2 separate regions of the Homo sapiens genome follow, and region 1 is linked to region 2. Evidence: promoter capture Hi-C in human tissues and cell types (Jung and others, 2019). All regions are on one chromosome and are shown on one strand. The core of a region is centred on a gene start or on the middle of the fragment in contact, and the rest is flanking DNA. Distances in the headings are between cores, read along the strand shown. Region 1 holds the start of CYP3A7 (cytochrome P450 family 3 subfamily A member 7). Region 2 overlaps TRIM4 (tripartite motif containing 4).

Region 1 (2,700 bases), core at 90-2,589, 170 kb after region 2:
ATATAATTTTCACACCCTCATCACTGAGATCTCTCCCATCAGGAATGGGTCACAGGGCTCACAGGTGGCAGCAACTGTTATTACAGGCCTCATCTCTACCAGCTCCTGGCACCTGCTCTCCTCCCATTAGAAAATCCTCCACTTGTCAAAAAGGAAGCCATTTGCTTTGAATTCCAATTCCACCCTCAAGAGGCTGGGACCACCTCATTGGAGTCCTTGATGCTGTGTGACCTGCAGTGACCACTGCCCCATTGTTGCTGGCTGAGGTGGTTTGGGTCAACCTGGCCATCTGGGCAGCTGTTCTCTTCTCTTCTTTCTCCCCTACTGTTTCCAGACATGCAGTATTTCCAGAGAGAAGGGGCCACTCTTTGGCAAAGAACCTGTCTAACTTTCTATCTACGGCAGGACTTTTGAAAGCTACAGAGGAAGAAGCACAAATTGATGCTATTCCACTAAGCCATCAGCTCCATCTCATCCATGCCATGTCTCTTTTTTAGGGGTCCTCTTGCCAACAGAATCACAGAGGACAAATCTGAAAGTGCAGAGACAGCAGCTGAGGCACAGCCAAGAGCTCTGGCTGTATTAATGACCTAAGAAGATGGAGTGGTCACCAGAAAGTCAGAGGAAGTGACACACAGGGGCCCAGCAATCTCAGCCAAGTCAACTCCACCAGCCTTTCTGGTCCCCACTGTGTGTACAGCACCCTGATAGGGACCAGAGCCATGAGAGTGAGTAAGACCAGACTATGCCCTTGAGGAGCTCACCTCTGCTAAGGGAAACAGGCCTGGAAACACACAATGGTGGTAAAGAGGAAAGAAGACAATAGAACTGCATGAAGGGGATGGAAAGTGCCCAGGGGAGGAAATGGTTACTTCTGTGTGAGGGGGTTGGTGAGGAAAGACTCTAAGAGAAGGCTCTGTCTGGCTGGGTATGAAAGGATGTGTAGGAGTCTTCTAGGGGGCACAGGCACACTCCAGGCATAGGTAAAGATCTGTAGGCATGGCTTGTTGGGATGAGTTTCAAGTATTCTGGAATGAGGACAGCCATAGAGACAAGAGGAGAGTTAATAGATTTTATGCCAATGGCTCCACTTGAGTTTGTGATAAGAACCCAGAACCCTTGGACTCCCCAGTAACATTGATTGAGTTGTGTATGATTCTACATAGAATATTAACTCAATGGAGGTCAGTGAGTGGTGTGTGTGTGATTATTTGCCAACTGCCGAGGTGGAGAAGCCTCTTCCGACTGCAGGCAGAGCACGGGGGCCCTGCTACTGGCTGCAGCTCCAGCCCTGCCTCCTTCTCCAGCATATAAACAATCCAACAGCCTCACTGAATCACTGCTGTGCAGGGCAGGAAAGCTCCACACACACAGCCCAGCAAACAGCAGCACGCTGCTGAAAAAAAGACTCAGAGGAGAGAGATAAGGAAGGAAAGTAGTGATGGATCTCATCCCAAACTTGGCCGTGGAAACCTGGCTTCTCCTGGCTGTCAGCCTGATACTCCTCTATCTGTGAGTAACTGTTCAGGCTCCTCTTCTCTGTTTCCTTGGACTTGGGGTGCTAATCAGGCCTCTCTTTCCCTTATCTGTTTTGAATAGCAAAAAGGATGTTCAGGCTGGCCGTGGTGGCTCACACCTGTCATCCCAGAACTTTGGGATGCTGAGCAGGTGGACTGCCTGAGGTCAGGAGTTCAAGACCAGCCTGGCTAATATGGTGAAACCCCATCTCTACTAAAATTACAAAAATTAGCTGGGCATGGTAGTGCATAACTGTAGTCCCAGCTACTTGGGTGGCTGAGGCAGGAGAATTGCTTGAACCTGGGAGGCGGAGGTTGCAGTGAACTGAGATCATGCCACTGCACTCCAGCCTGGGTAACAGAGTGAGATTCCATCTCAAAAAAAAAAAAAGAGAAAAAAAAGAAAAAAAAAGATTTTCAAGGAGAAGTAGCTTAAGTGTTGGATGCTACAAACATATAGAGGTTATGATGGATGTTTTGCAGATCTATAAAGGAATAAATAAGCATCTCCCCCATTCATCTTTAGTGGAAAGAAGGGTTTAGGGACAGCATTGATTGAGGATAATCTAATAGACAATGGTTTGTACCCAGCTTACCAAACCAGAATTTGGATTTTACATTTTTCCCTTTAAGTTGCAGGAGAAGAGGGTGAATCTTCTCACCAGTGAGATCCTGGCATCCTAGAGCAGGTGGAGAGAAGAGTCACTCCCTACTGTGTGTACTGGAGGCTTCCCGCCTGTCACATTTTACTTCTAACTCAATTTCACAGTTATTAAGAGTAAGGAATCATGGTCACATGGAAACAGAAAATACAAACCTCGTTTTAATTCTTTCACAGAAAAGTTAGCAATTCAGTGAGTTGTGGTAACATAGTTTCCATCTACTGGCAATTTAACATGAATTGGTGTGGCTTAAATTCATCCTTTTTAAAGCCAGATTTTTTTGGAGATAGACTATTTCCAGCATGTTCCTTCTGAGTGATAAAAGAGGGCTATTAGTTCAGTATTTGTGACAATAAATGTGTATAAGATAACCTCACCTTTCCAGAATAATGTCAGGAATATGAGTCTAATGTACAAATATATATCTCTAGGACAAGACTGCATATGTCTTTTTAAAAATACTTTCCCAAGAGTTTATTTTAATACCCCCATTTCAAATACACCTGCTTAGCAGGTTATCC
Region 2 (2,700 bases), core at 136-2,635:
TGTAAAGGTGAAGACAGTGTGCCAGATACCATTGATGAAGGAAATGCTAAAGCGATTCCAAGGTGAGCAGAATTTCTAGGACTTGGGGCTCCTTAGAAATCTTTCAAATAGGAGAATAAAGAGAGAAGTCTGGAGAGGAAAGAGGAAACAGCATGCAGCTAATAGAGTGTCAGGAAAGGTGGTTAATAAATGGGTATACACTTCATTCAAGAAACATTTATTTAACGCACTGTTACAAGGTGCTAGTGATACAAAAAGAAGAGACCTGTTCACTTCTTCATGAGTTCGTAAGCACATTGGAGAGACAGACACACAGCACTCACAGTGATATAGTAGGAGCCAGTGTTTGCTGGTGGTAGGAATAAAATGTTACAGAAATTCAGAGGAAGGGCTCTGTTGGGGGCGAGATGGGAAAGTTTTCACAGCAGAGGCGACAGTTTTGAGATTTGAGGGATTAGTAGGAGTTTGGCAGGTGGAAAACAGGGATGACTGTTTCAAGCAGAAGCAGCAGCATGAGCTAAGGTGTGGAGAACATGGAGGGGTGGGTATCCAAAGAGGCTAAAGAACAAGGTGTATTTTGAGGAAAGGTAGAGGTTGAGGTTGAGAAGAAGAGTGTAGGACAGACTGAAAATAAACTCATTGGATCTCCAGGGAGGCACCAAGGCAGGTACATGCTCTAGAAGCTGTGCTGGTGATTCTTATGTGCACATGTTTGATTAAGAACCATGTTGTAGGCCGGGCACGAAGGCTCATGTCTGTAATCCCAGCACTTTGGGAGGTCGAGGCAGGCGGATCATTTGAGGTCAGGAGTTCGAGACCAGCCTGGCCAACATGGTGAAACCCTGTCTCTACTAAAATACAAAAATTAGCTGAGCATAGTGGTGTGCACCTGTAATCCCAGCTACTCGGGAGGCTGAGGCAGGAGAATCGCTTGAACCTGGGAGGTGGAGGTTGCAGTGAGCTGAGATTGTATCCACTGCACTCCAGACTGGGCGATAGAGTGAGACTCTGTCTCAAAAAACAAACAAACTAAAAAGAACCATGTTGTGGGTGTTCACTTCTAGCCAAAATGGAGTAAATAAACGAGTTGTTTTCTTGTCTGCAGCAACTAAAATAAAAACACAAAAACAAAACAGGCACAATATGTGAAACAACCGTTTTCAAAGCACCAGACGTCAGGCAGTGAAGGACGGTGATTCCTGAGAAATGTGAAACAAATGAGGTCAGCCTATGATTGCCCTACCCTCTGCCTGAGGGAGTTTCCAGACCATGTAAGGCTGAGGTAACTGAGGTAGAGCCAGGGAGACTTGCTGAGTTGAGGAATAGACCTGGGAGTTCACGGAGAACAAAGTAGTGAGAGTTCGCAAAGTACTGGGCAGTATCCTGGAGCGGAGAGAGCCGGACACAGAGAGAACCCTCGCCATCTATGGAGGAGCTTCCTAGTTGTTTGGCAGAGTTCTGATCAGCACATGCCTGTGAAAATCTACTCAAGGCTGGAGATAGAAGCTTCTAAAACGATTAGAGGGAACGGTTCCTGGTGCTCACACAGGGCCAGGAACAGTGCCAGTTCCTATCAGCCACACCAGAAAACTCGTAGTTCACGGGCACTGAGTAGCGTACTCAGGAAAATCTTGCCTCATTAGCAGAAAATATTTAGCCCTTGACTGGGTGCTGCTCCACACCCACCTTACAAATCATGAAAGCAAGACCCAAAGGGGTCAAACTCTTTCCAACTAACTTAACTGCATCCCAGGATAAAGCCCTAGAAAATTGGTAGAAATAAACAAAAAAAGAGCACCTAACAATATAAATTCACAATGTCTGGCATCCAGTCAAATATGCATGCAAAAAGATAGGAAAGCAGTGACCCATAATGGAGGAAAATAATCAACTGAAACTGACCTAGAATTGACACAGATGTTAGAATAAGCATGGAAGGACTTTAAAACATTTATTATGAGTGTATTCTGTAAAGAGGTACATAGAGACCAGATCAAAGTTTTAAAGATGAAAAATGTGATTAAGGCGAAGAATGCACTGGATGGGATTAATAGTTGATTAAATATTACAAAAGAAAAAATTGGTGAACTTGAAGACAGAGCAATGGAAACTACAAAAAAATGAAACATACACAGAATAAAACAATTTACAAAAACACAAAGAGCATCAGTGACCTGTGGGACAACTTTATGCAGCCTTATTATCTATGGTGATTGGCGTCCCTGAAAGAGAGGAGTGGGGAGGGAGATGGAATAGGAAAAATACTTGAAGACATAATGGCCAAAGATTTTCTGAATATAATAAAAACTAAGTCCACAGATCCAAGATGCTCAACAAACCCTGAGTATGAGAAATATGAAGAAAAATATGCCAAGGCTCATCATAACTTGCTGGAAACCAGTGTTAAAAAGAAAATCTTAAATGCAACCAGGGGAGAGGATAGTTACTTGCAGTGGAACAAAGACGAAGTTGACATTACACTTCTCATTGGAAACAATGCCAGTAAGCAAACTCTTTAAAGTCCTGAAAGAAAAAAACTGTTAACCTAGAGTTCTAGAACTGGCAAAAAATATCCTTCAAAAACAAAGGTGAAATAAATAAGTTTGGAGGTAAACTAAAGCTTAAAAGAAAGAGTTTACAGCAGACTGACACTTCAAGAAAGGAAGTCTTAAAGGAAGTCCTTCAGACAGAAGGAAAATG

Evidence for each region. The method cuts DNA at HindIII sites, captures the fragments that hold promoters and counts their contacts. A contact is called where the count stands out against the background at its distance.
Region 1: a contact is called between the fragment with the promoter of CYP3A7 here and a fragment that was not itself captured in region 2, in 3 of the 25 tissues and cell types used here (adrenal gland, mesendoderm cells and thymus).

What each region holds. Positions count from the first base shown.
Region 1 is chr7:99,733,835-99,736,534 of GRCh38, reverse strand. CYP3A7 (cytochrome P450 family 3 subfamily A member 7) reads left to right here and starts at 1,339. Exons shown (of 13, transcript NM_000765.5): 1 at 1,339-1,512. The coding sequence starts at 1,442. CYP3A7-CYP3A51P (CYP3A7-CYP3A51P readthrough) reads left to right here and starts at 1,339. Exons shown (of 15, transcript NM_001256497.3): 1 at 1,339-1,512. The coding sequence starts at 1,442. It also overlaps a transcript of ZSCAN25 not described here. RefSeq lists enhancers at 1-179, 1,164-1,194 and promoters at 1,200-1,442, 1-1,442. The HindIII fragment of the contact is 8,535 bases long and covers 1-2,700 here.
Region 2 is chr7:99,900,580-99,903,279 of GRCh38, reverse strand. TRIM4 (tripartite motif containing 4) reads left to right here. Exons shown (of 6, transcript NM_033091.3): 5 at 1-62. Among named protein-coding and RNA genes, the nearest start is that of TRIM4, 18 kb to the left of the region's middle. The HindIII fragment of the contact is 4,226 bases long and covers 1-2,700 here.